2 separate regions of the Homo sapiens genome follow, and region 2 is linked to region 1. Evidence: promoter capture Hi-C in human tissues and cell types (Jung and others, 2019). All regions are on one chromosome and are shown on one strand. Each heading gives the region's core, a stretch centred on a gene start or on the middle of the fragment in contact. The rest is flanking DNA. Distances are from core to core; before and after follow the strand shown. Region 1 holds the start of ST13 (ST13 Hsp70 interacting protein). Region 2 holds the start of PMM1 (phosphomannomutase 1).

Region 1 (5,766 bases), core at 1,926-4,425:
AGCAAATGGTTTGAGTTACATCTAGCAGCACTAAAACTTATTCAACTTTGGCCAAATACAAATGCGAAATTAGAAAAAAATTATAATATCTGCTATTTTTAAAAGACAGCTATAGTCAAGAGCTTGTGTTTTGTATCGGTATTTGATTTTTAGTGGGCAGATGGGAGAAGGAAAGGTTATTTATTCTATAGAAGAGACTGCGGACAATTAGTATTCAAAGTTTATTTTCAGAAAATAAAATAATAAAAGCCCAGGGTATTTTAAATGCTTCTAATATAAGATGTGATATTTAGTAGAGTTTATCTGTTATCATGCATGTGGTAGTAAAGTTGAAAAAAAAATTGCAATTTTCCAAAAACTAAAGCAAAAATCAGTGTCTCAGAAAATTTAAGAATGTAATGACATGCCCTGTAGTCCATTTCTTCACTCTTAACAGAAAACCAAAAATTTAGATTTAATCATCTTACTCAATAGCTTAAAATTCCTCAAAGTTTTCCCACCATCTAAAGGAAAAAGCTAATTGTTTGCTTAACATAATATACAAGGCCCTCCACGAGCCAGCCACCAGCTTTTTTCCCAACTTGATTTCCTATCAGCTCCTTGTACTCATCTTATGCTCTAGCCCAACTTCTCCCAAAATCTGTTCCAGGGATACCAGTTCAAGATTCATCACAGAAAAGGGGTCCATGGTCAAATACATTTTTACACATTTTGCAAATTACTGCGGAACACATCTCTCAGAAACCTAGACTATTAAGGGCTGGGTGCAGTGGCTCACACTTATAATCGCAACACTTTGAGAAGCTGAGGTGAGAGTTCAAGTTTACTTTGGGCAACATGGCAAGACCCCATCTCCAAAAAAAGAATTAAACTATTATGTACATTATGAAAGGCAGCATTCCCCAAAAGTATTTGATCACAGAATCATTTTCGTGTAATGCCTACTATTTTGTTTGAGAACATCTTTCAAAAAATCTTTTCCTAAGCCGGGCGCGGTGGCTCACGCCTGTAATCCCAGCACTTTGGGAGGCCGAGGCGGGTGGATCACGAGGTCAGGGGTTCAAAACCAGCCTGGCCAAGATGGTGAAACCCCATCTCTACTAAAAACACATAAATTAGCCAGGCGTGGTGGCGGGCGCCTGTAATCCCAGCTACTCGGGAGGCTGAGACAGGAGAATCGCTTGAACTCGGGAGGTGGAGGTTGCAGTAAGGCAAGAGATCGCGCCACTGCACTCCAGCCTGGGCGACAAGAGCAAGACTCTGTCTCAAAAAAAAAAAAAAAAAAAAAAAAGCTTCTCCAGCCATACTAAACGATTGCAACGCTTAGTGCTGGCCACTCCGTTTTAGAGTTCTGTGCCTTTGCAAGTGTTCCTTCTGGTAGTATGGCTCCTTTAGTCAGGCTGGGGAGAGCCTTTCAAATAAAAGCAAATTCCAGGCCTGGGGCGGTGGCTCAGAGAGGAGGGTGGATCGCTTGAGGCCAGGAGTTCGAGATCAGCTTGGCCAACGTGGCAAAACCTGGTTTCTACTACAATTACAAAAATTAGCCAGGCGTGGTGGCACACGCCTATAATCCCAGCTACCTCGGGAGGCTGAGGCACGAGAATTGCTTGAACTCAGGAGGCAGAGGTTGCAAATGAGCAGAGATTGCCACTGCACTCCAGTCTGAGCAACAGAATGAGAGCCTGTCTCAAAAAAAGACTGAAAAATTGCACATCTTTCTTTTCACCTAATCCCACGGAGAGTTGTCTTTCTGCAGCTTTACTATGAGAACTGAAGAACAAGTTCTGTGCACTGGACAATAACTTTTTATTTTTTATAGTAAGAAGTCGATGTAATTAACATTCCATTTTAAATGAATTCAAGTATATCAACATAAACATATGCCAAGACATAGCTTTGATGTCAAATACCATACGTTCTGGTTCACACATTGTTCATATATTGACCCAAAAAACTGAAATACGATCCAATGGCAGATCCGCCTGCAAGGAAGGTGATTCAGTTTTCACTGATTAAGCTTTATGTTCATCAGATTAATTGCTCGCAATAGAGGACACCCTACAAAAAATTATTCTCCTTATCCTTCGTCTTGTCTTTGCAAACAGGACTTTCAGACACAGAACGCCCCAGAAGTATTTCGAAACAGTTACCTCTCCTAAGAGGAGCTGCTGAAAGAATTTGTTACTAAACATGCTTCGTGTATATTCTGGAGCAAGCTCTCACGCCTAACAGAAACAAGAGCTACTTGATGTGAGACACTTTGTCACTTAAGTGTGATAATTGCCACAACTTCGGAGTCCGAGTAACTTGGAAGACAGCCCCTCTGGGGGATGGCACACTTTTCTCTCTGCAGTCATTTCGGCTTCACAAAATACCTCAACGGTAGAGAACACACTGGGCCCACCCCTTTCCAGGAGCAGCCGGTATAGAAGAAATCCGCGGAGCACAGAGGGTTGGGGAGCGGAGGCCCCACCAGGAGAAGGGTCAGCCGAACCAGGGATCGCCTGAGACCAACTTGGGTCCCTCCAGGGGACACCATGGGAGGAGACCGTGGGAGAAGAGTCTAACCTGAGAGGCCGCGGACGTTTGCTACAGCGGGAACCAGCTTGGGGGCTGAGAGCAGCCAAGGCATTACGGCCTAACTCACGCGTCGGGAAGAGAAAGAGGGTAACGACGGGGAACGCAACCGCCTGCAGGGCCGCGTCGCCAGGAAACCGGGCCAGCCGCACCTCCCCTTCCGGCGGAGGCGGCTCGCGGGCCTTCCTTGCGCGGCGGCGCAGGTTGTGACGTCATGCCCCGAGCTGGGACCGACCCTCCGGCTCCACGCCCTTTTTTTTTTTTTTTTTTAGGTCCCGGGCGTTGAGCTCTACTCAGTGCACGCAGCCACACAATATGCTCTTGGACGTCGCCCCCTGGAGGGGATGTTATCTCCCGCCTCCTTGAAGTCGCCCATTTCTGGGGTTGCCCCATCCAGGGAGCTGGTTCCTAGTTAAGAATATGAGAATGTATGCGCAGGGAGGCAGGCAACAGCACGAACAGCCACGCTTCTAGAAGATTCTAGGGAGCGCGCAGGAGCAGCGCAGAGGGAGTAGGAATGAGCAGGCGGAGGACCCGAGGTCACGAGACCGTTGGGTGGGAGGAGCCAGCGGCCGGGGAGGTTCTAGTCTGTTCTGTCTTGCGGCAGCCGCCCCCTTCTGCGCGGTCACGCCGAGCCAGCGCCTGGGCCTGGAACCGGGCCGTAGCCCCCCCAGTTTCGCCCACCACCTCCCTACCATGGACCCCCGCAAAGTGAACGAGCTTCGGGCCTTTGTGAAAATGTGTAAGCAGGATCCGAGCGTTCTGCACACCGAGGAAATGCGCTTCCTGAGGGAGTGGGTGGAGAGGTGAGACCCAGGCCTGAGGACCGTTGGGGGCGGGGGAAGCACGGCCCCAGGGGGGAGCCAGGCTGGACCTGGCTCGGTCCGGCGGGCGAGGCGGGGTCGCTGCCCCTTCTTTGCCCGGGAAAGGGAGGCAACTTCGAGGGGTCATGGAAGATCGCGAGCCTTGGGTAGTACAGGAGCCGCGGGGAGCAGGAGGCAGAGCTGGGTTCCTCGCACCCTGAGGTTGCCCAGGGGTGTATCTTGGGCGAAATACAAAAACAGGACTGCGGATGCGTGGACACTGGAGACGCGAGGAGTGAAAACTGCAAGACTTAGATTTTGCGTGGGGTTGTTTTTCTTTCAGTCTTGTGTGCCCTGCTCAGGTCTCATTGGTACATAGCAGTTCCTTTACGCACTATTCCTTTACGTCGTGTTATAATAATATAACACTAGTAAGTTAAAAGTTACAAAACTAGTAAGAATAAAAATGATAACTGTAAAAATGATTGTTTTTACCTTACAGCGTTTGTAGCTGCGTAGGATTAATTATCTTGAGAATCACTTATTATACCTCCGTTACTTGGCAGTGTTATCACTCCAAACACGTCTGAGAAAAATAATTTCTTAAGGCCTGGCATGTTTCCAGGATATAATCTTGTTGTCTTTAACTGTAGAGTACTTCGCTACGTGCAAGGAGTTAATTGACAAGGCATTGTGCCTGGTGCTAGGAAACAGTATAAGTACTGTCTATTTAGACGAATAAATAGAAAAGTTCGTTTTGATATTTACTATATAATAGTAATTAGCATTTTATGTGTTGAAGGAGCACCGAAGAGAAAAAGTGACAGGGAAGTCTTCCCTAAGATGACTTTTTAAAAAATTATTACTAATGGGGAACTGAAAAGATGACATACAAATTGCACTAAACAGGGATAAATAGCAACTATGCAGACCATTGCGACTCCTAAGAGGTGCTGCTGTGAACGTTATGTGTTTAGTGACTTTTGTCTTTTAGAGACAGGGTTTGGCTGTATTGTCCAGGCCGCATACAGTGGCGGGATCACTGCAGCCTCCAATTCCTGGGCACAAGCGATCCTCCTGCATCAGTCTCCCAGGTGGCTAGCAGTGCGGGATCGAGCCACCATACTTGGCTAATTTAATTTTTTTGTAGAGATGGGGGTCCCATTAAGTTGCCCAGGCTTGTCTTGAACTCCTGGCCTCAAGGGACTCCCCCGCCTCCCAAAGTGGTGGTATTACAGGCGTGAGCCACTTCACCCAGCGTGATATTTTTGTGTGGGAAGATGAGCTCATGATTACCAAATAGCTCAAAGAATATTTCTTAACAACAATCTGGTTCTAAGGAAAAAACTCGTTACAATCTGTCAGCGTTGTATGTTGTATTTTTTTCCTCTAAGAAGTTTTTCAATTTTTAGCTCCCCACCAATTGTCTAACTACTGGAAGACTTACTTATATGTGAAATTCTGAGACCATTTAATATTACTATGTTAATAGTAACTTTATGAATATTGGTAAGAAGTCTATTTTGCAAACTCCTCAACCGGGAAATGTCAGGATTAGGAATTGAGGGCTAGGTTTTAGTCGTTTTCTCTATTGAACAGCTTGATGATCCAAAAGCCTTAAGATATTTGTATGCTTTTATCCTAATTATAGGAAAGAACCTGCAGTTAATAAATTCTTTCTAAAATTCCAGGTAACGTAGACAAGTATCACAGGAAGAAAATAGCCGGCTCCAAGAGCTGGCTCCACTTTACATTAAGTGGATACAATGTTTTTGTTTCATTCTTACTAGTGAGGAAGAGGAGACACAGAAGAACAAATTAAAAGCATGTGTAAGAACAGTGTCCTCCTGACTTGTGCTGGAGTGATTGTGCCTATGTAGAGAATTCCACTTTAAGGTTTGCAAAATATTTGTCAGGCACTACTATCTCCCAAACAAAAACAAGAAATAGTCATATACCTTATTTTAACATAGGTAATTCCAGTTTTTCTTTCTGATTCCACTTACATTCTTTAGCCATCCTGAGTTGGCTGAAGTATGGGGTGAAGCATCATGGCATATGTAGGGACTTTATTCTGAACTTAAATTGAGATATTTAATATAGAAGCTTTTTCTCTTTATTTCTGTATTTAAACTAAGATTTTTATAAACTCTGAGGCCTTTGCGTTTGTGTCAGTTTCTCTCTCTGCCTTCATCAGTCTGCAGTTCGAGATTGTGGCAGATGGGGCTGAATGTGGAGACTTCTAGGTCCAGACGTCTTCCTAGGCCTGATGCTACTGTTAGGGTTACTCAAGTTGAAAACATGTGTTTCTCACAGGCTTAGCTGTTGAAGAACAGTACATCTGCCTATTTGCTATAATTGCTAGCATTGTTTATAGCTTAGTTTT
Region 2 (5,766 bases), core at 2,445-4,944, 730 kb before region 1:
GCCTCTCCCTCCACACCTCCCCGCAAGCCGAGGGAGCCGGCGCCGGCCTCGGCCAGCCCAGAGAAGGGCTCCCACAGTGCAGCGGCGGGCTGAAGGGCTCCTCAAGCACGGCCAGAATGGGCGCCGAGGCTGAGGAGGCACCAAGAGTGAGCGAGGGCTGCTAGTACGCTGTCACCTCTCATCACCTTTCATAGTTCTATCACGTGGGGTTTATATCCTCATTACATATAAAGAAACTGAAGCCCAGTGAGGAAAGGTGACCTGTCCAAGTCCTTGTAGTTAGCCAGGACCAAACTGCAGTTCTCCTGATTCCAACTCCAATGATCTCTCCAGGACACCATAGCTACCCAGTCAGAAAAACAAGAATTGTGCCTGGGGATCTGGTGCGGTGGGTCAGGCCTGTAATCCCAACACTTTGGTCACGCCTGTAATCCCAACACTTTGGGAGGCTGAGTCGTGAGGACCATTTGAGGCCAGGAGTTTGAGAGCAGCCTGGACAAAATAGTGAGACCCTATTCTACACACACACGTGCACACGCACACAAACACAATGCAGATTTTCATGGCTTCGTAGCATTTCATCTTCTAGATGGGTCTTAGTTCATTTAAACAATTCCATATATTTTTCCTTTTTTCTATTTTCTTTTCTTTCTTTTTTTTTTGAGACGGAGTCTGCTCTGTTGCCCAGGCTGGAGTGCAGTGGCGTGATCTCGGTTCACTGCAAGCTCCGCCTCCCAGGTTCACACCATTCTCCTGCCTCAGCCTCCCAAGTAACTGGGACTATAGGCACCCGCCACCACGCCCAGCTAATTTTTTGTATTGTTAGTAGAGATGGGGTTTCACCGTGTTAGCCAGGATGGTCTCGATCTCCTGACCTCGTGATCCGCCCACCTCAGCCTTCCAAAGTGCTGGATTACAGGTGTGAACCACCGCGCTTGGCCTTTTTTTTTTTTTTTCCGAGTCAGAGTCTCGCTCTATGGCCCAGGCTGGAGTGCAGTGGTGTGATCTCGGCTCACTGCAAGCTCCGCCTCCCGGGTTCAAGGGATTCTCCTGCCTCAGCCTCCCGAGTCGCTGGGACTACAGGTGCCGCCACTACGCCTGGCTAATTTTTTGTATTTTTAGTAGAGACGGGGTTTCACCACGTTAGCCAGGATGGTCTCGATCTCTTGACCTTGTGGTCTGCCTGCCTTGGCCTCCCAAAGTGCTGGGATTACAGGCGTGAGCTACCGCGCTCAGCCTCTTTTCCTATTTTCTAAAAGTTGAATTGCTGACTCATATGATCTGCATCTTTTTTTTTTTTTTTCTTGAGACAGGGTCTCACTACTGTTACCCAGGCTGGAGTGCAGTGGGAAGATCTGGTTCGTTGCAGCCTCAGCTTCCTGGTGATTCTCCTACTTTAGCCTCCTGAGGGACCACAGGTGCCTGCCACCATGCCTGGCTAATGTTTTGTATTTTTAGTAGAGACAGCATTTTGCCATGTTGCCCAGGCTGATCTTGACCTCCTGGGTTCAAACAATCCACCCACCTTGGCCTCCCAAAGTGCTGGAATTACAGGTGTGAGCCACCGCATCCAGCTCTACAGTTATTTTTTATTTATTTAGTTAGTTAGTTAGTTAGTTAGTTTGTTTGTTTGAGGTGTAGTCTCCCTCTGTCTCCCAGGCTGGAGCGCAGTGGCATCATCTCGGCTCACTGCAACCACCGCCTTCCAGGTTCAAGTGATTCTTCCGCCTCAGCCTCCCAAGTAGCTGGGATTACAGGCTCCTGCCACCATGCCCGGCTAATTTTTGTATTTTTAGTAGAGACGGACTTTCCCCATGTTGGCCAGGCTGGTCTCAAACTCATGACCTCAGGTGATCTGCCCATCCCGGCCTCCCAAAGTGTTGGGATTACAGGCGTGAGCCACCGCGCCCAGCCTGTTACTTATTTTCATGTGAAAAGCAAACCTACAAAGCAGGTGGTGTTCATCCCATTTTATAGGTGAAGACACAAAGCCTCTGAGAGGTGAAGTGACTTGTCCAAGGTCCCATAGTGGTGGAGCTGGGAAGGCAACCTGGAAGTGACTCCAAAGTCAACGCAATGGTTAAATAATTGTGAATCGAATCTGGGAAGGTTGGCTGGGAACGGTGGCTCATGCCTGTATTCCCAGCACTTTGGGAGGCTGAGGCAGGCAGATCACCTGAGGCCAGGAGTTCGAGACCAGCCTGGCTAACATGGTGAAAATACAAAATTACTACTAAAAATAAAAAATTAGCCGAGCGTGGTAGTGGGTACAAAATAATCCCAGCTACTCGGGAGGCAGAGGTTGTGGTGAGCTGAAATCGTGCCATTGCACTCCAGCCTGGGCAACAAGAGCAAAACTCCGTCTCAGAAAAAAAAAAAAAATTAGCCGGGCGTGGTGGCGCACTTCTGTAGTTTCAGCTACTCAGGAGGCTGAGGCAGGAGAATCACTTGAACCTGGGAGGCGGAGGTTGCAGTGAGCCGAGATCATGCCACTGCACTCCAACCTGAGTAACAGAGTGAGACCCAGTCTCAAAAAATAAATAAATAAATAAATAAATCGCCCTGTGTCAAAAATAAAATAAAATAAACATAAAAGTAAGTAAAAATACAAAAATTAGGTGGGCATGGTGGCACACGCCTGCAGTCCCAGCTACTCGGGAGGCTGAGGCATGAGAACCGCTTGAACCTGGGAGGTGGAGGTTGCAGTGGGCAGAGATCCCGCCACTGCACTCCAGCCTGGGCAGAGCGAGACTCTGTCTCAAAAAAAAAAAAAAAAAAGAAGAATCTGGGAAGGTCTCCAAGCAGGTAGACCCTGAGAGCTGGGTCTTATGTGTGGACAGAAGGAATAAGGCTCGGGGAAGGCAATTTGGCAAAGTCCAAAGCCTGAACAAAGGCCTTCAGGAGATTTCTTTTCTTTTCTTTTCTTTCCTTTTTTTTTTTTTTTTTTTTTTTTGAGGCTGGAGTGCAATGGCGCGATCTCGGCTCACCGCAACCTCTGGCTTCTTTGGAATCAAGCGATTCTCCTGCCTCAGCCTCCTGAGTAGCTGAGATTACAGGCATGCGCCACCACGCCTGGCTAATTTTGTATTTTTAGTAGAGACGAGGTTTCTCCATGTTGGTCAGGCTGGTCTCGAACTCCCGACCTCCGGTGATCCGCCCGCCTCGACGTCCCAAACTGCTGGGATTACAGGCGTGAACCACCGCGCCCGGCTCAGGAGATTTCCTACAGCTCAAAATTTGTAAGGCAAAGAGATGGCCACAAACCTTGTGAGAGTGGATGGGGAGCGACCTCGGCTCTCTTAGTCCCGCCTGGCCCACTAGACACTGCACTGCATGGTAGAGGCCCCGCCCGACCCAGCCCCTTAATCGGCCTGTTGCAATCACTATCAACCCGCCAATTCTGGCCCCGCCCCTGTCTTCCGGGTTCACCCTCTCACTTCCTGCGGGTCCCAGGCTCAGGCCCCTCCTCCGCCTTGTTTGGAGCAATCCAATCGAACCTGGAGGGCTCCGCTCCGCCCTATGCCGCGCTCCCCTCCTCCACGAGCAATGAGAATCAGCTCAGGCCCCGCCCCCGCTTCCGCCCGCCTAGACCACGCCCCTTCTTCATTTGGCCAATCAGGCAGTCCACTGGCCCCCGCCCCCTAATGCCCCGCCCCGTCAGCACTTATCCCTGAGCTGCTTCTGCCGTTGCATCTTCGGGACTCCGCCCCGCGCGCGGACCTGCAGCCATGGCAGTCACCGCCCAGGCAGCCCGCAGGAAGGAGCGCGTCCTCTGCCTGTTTGACGTGGACGGGACCCTCACGCCGGCTCGCCAGGTAGGACCCTGAAGATTGGAAGCTCCCACCGGGAGTGTCACGCGGACACCCCCGAGGCTGAGTGTGGGGTCTGCAGCAGCGTGACCGTGGACACCCGGGGACCGAGTGTGGGATGCGGCGGTACCCGGCCCCCTGACATCCGGGGCCACCCACCGGGAGTGAGGGGACCTGGCCCTCACGTCACTGACCCCGCAGCGTCCTTGCCTGTGTTCTGCTTGGGAGTGCTGGGGTTGGATCCAGTACTGGAGGGAGGAGGCTGCGAGCAGGGGCCTAGCTCCCTCCCTCCCCGGAGGCTGTCACACGCCGCTAAGGCCTGGCTCACGGACGCCCCCGCCTCCTGAGCTGGGGATCCCACCCTAGTTCAGCCCTACGACACACCAGTGGTCGGAGCTGGCTTCTGAACCGGGGTTCCAGGCACACAAGCACACAGCCAAGCGTCAGTCATCATCTGGTGGGAGACAGGGCGTCTCGGAGTCTTCCCACCCCGACCTTTGCAGGCCTGGGACTGGGTCTAGTTTCTGAAGCCCCATCACCCACTTTACCTTCCACCCCCAGTCGTGGAGCAGAGAGGGCTTCTTTTCAAATTCGTTTATGAGCTCTACCCACCCGGATGTGAGAGGCTCCAGGCCTAGCCTGTTTGCTGTGAGGACACTGAGGAATAGTGAGGGTAAGAGTCTAGTTTTCTTCTAAAGACTCTCGCTGTGTTGAGCCTCTTACCTCTGCTCAGTTTTTCTCCCATTGGGTCTCATTGTGAGTGAGTCCCCAAAAGCCCCCTCACCAGCTGGATGCATCAGTAAGCAGGCTTCATTCATGCCCTCCCTGTGGGTAACCCACCCTCCAGTCTGGGGGCCTCAAGGACCAACCAACAGGTCTCCTAGCGTGGGGGAGCAGTGGGATGGGCTTTACTGGGCAGTGGCTGATGGGAACCCAGGTCTTAGCCTCCTCTCTTAGGTCCCGAATGCCCCTCCCCATCCTCTGTGGTGAAGTTGCCCTGGCTTGGGCCCTGGAGGCCTTCCTGCAGGGGTGGATCCGGGAGGAAGATAGCAGGACTGGAGCAAAGGTGGGCCATTTGCTTGTGGGTCACGCCTGTAATCCCAGCACTTTGGGAGGCCATGGTGGGCAGATCACCTGAGGTCAGGAATTCTAGATCAGTCTGGCTAACATGGTGAAACCCCGTCTCTACTAAAAATACAAAAATTAGGCTGGGTTCAGTGGCTCACGCCTGTAATCCCAGCACTTTGGGAGGCCGAGGCAGACAGATCACGATGTCAGGAGTTTAAGACCAGCCTGACCAATATCGTGAAACCCTATCTCTACTAAAAATACAAAAAATTAGCCAGGCGTGGTGGCATGCACCTGTAATCCTAGCTAGTCGGGAGGCTGAGGCAGGAGAATCACTTGAACCCGAGAGGCAGAAGTTGCAGTGAGCCGAGAATGTGCCATTGCACTACAGCCTGGGCGACAGAGGGAGACTCAGTCTCAAAACAAAACAAAACAAAAAGTAGATGGGCGTGGTGTCGTGTGCCTGTAGTCCCAGCTACTGGGGAGGCAGAGGCAGGAGAATCGATTGAACCCAGGAGGTGGAGGTTGCAGTGAGCCAAGATTGTGCCATTGCACTCCAGCCTGGGCAACAAGAGTGAAACTCCGTCTCAAACAAACAAATAAATGAATAAAAGAACTGGAACAAAAGTGGCAGGGCCTAGGCACAGTTCTGACTCCTCCCTCTGACCTTTTGCTCCACAAACATAACAACCTGAATAAGAACAGCCTATTAATTTGTCTACGGGCCAGCCTCTGTGCTTAGTGCCTTTTGAAAGTTAATTTTTAATCGTACACATTTTCATGAGCACACTCTCCTGGTAAAGAATGGAAACGTAACAGAGAAGGGTAAAGTCCACTCTGACCGCACTTGGGGAGCCTGGCCGGCTCCCCAAGTTAATGTGGTTACTGT

The links. Contacts are between HindIII fragments. The study calls those that stand out against the background at their distance.
Region 2: the fragment with the promoter of PMM1 here is called in contact with the fragment with the promoter of ST13 in region 1 in 1 of the 25 tissues and cell types used here (liver).

What each region holds. Positions count from the first base shown.
Region 1 is chr22:40,854,048-40,859,813 of GRCh38, reverse strand. ST13 (ST13 Hsp70 interacting protein) reads left to right here and starts at 3,175. Exons shown (of 12, transcript NM_003932.5): 1 at 3,175-3,383. The coding sequence starts at 3,274. It overlaps XPNPEP3 (X-prolyl aminopeptidase 3), which reads right to left and starts at 2,666. Exons shown (of 10, transcript NM_022098.4): 1 at 2,569-2,666. The coding sequence starts at 2,632. It overlaps DNAJB7 (DnaJ heat shock protein family (Hsp40) member B7), which reads left to right. Exons shown (of 1, transcript NM_145174.2): 1 at 1-265. RefSeq lists enhancers at 2,361-2,820, 2,831-3,050, 2,678-3,447. The HindIII fragment of the contact is 7,743 bases long and covers 1,656-5,766 here.
Region 2 is chr22:41,587,768-41,593,533 of GRCh38, reverse strand. PMM1 (phosphomannomutase 1) reads left to right here and starts at 3,694. Exons shown (of 8, transcript NM_002676.3): 1 at 3,694-3,815. The coding sequence starts at 3,729. RefSeq lists a silencer at 3,346-3,495 and an enhancer at 3,890-4,569. The HindIII fragment of the contact is 27,075 bases long and covers 1-5,766 here.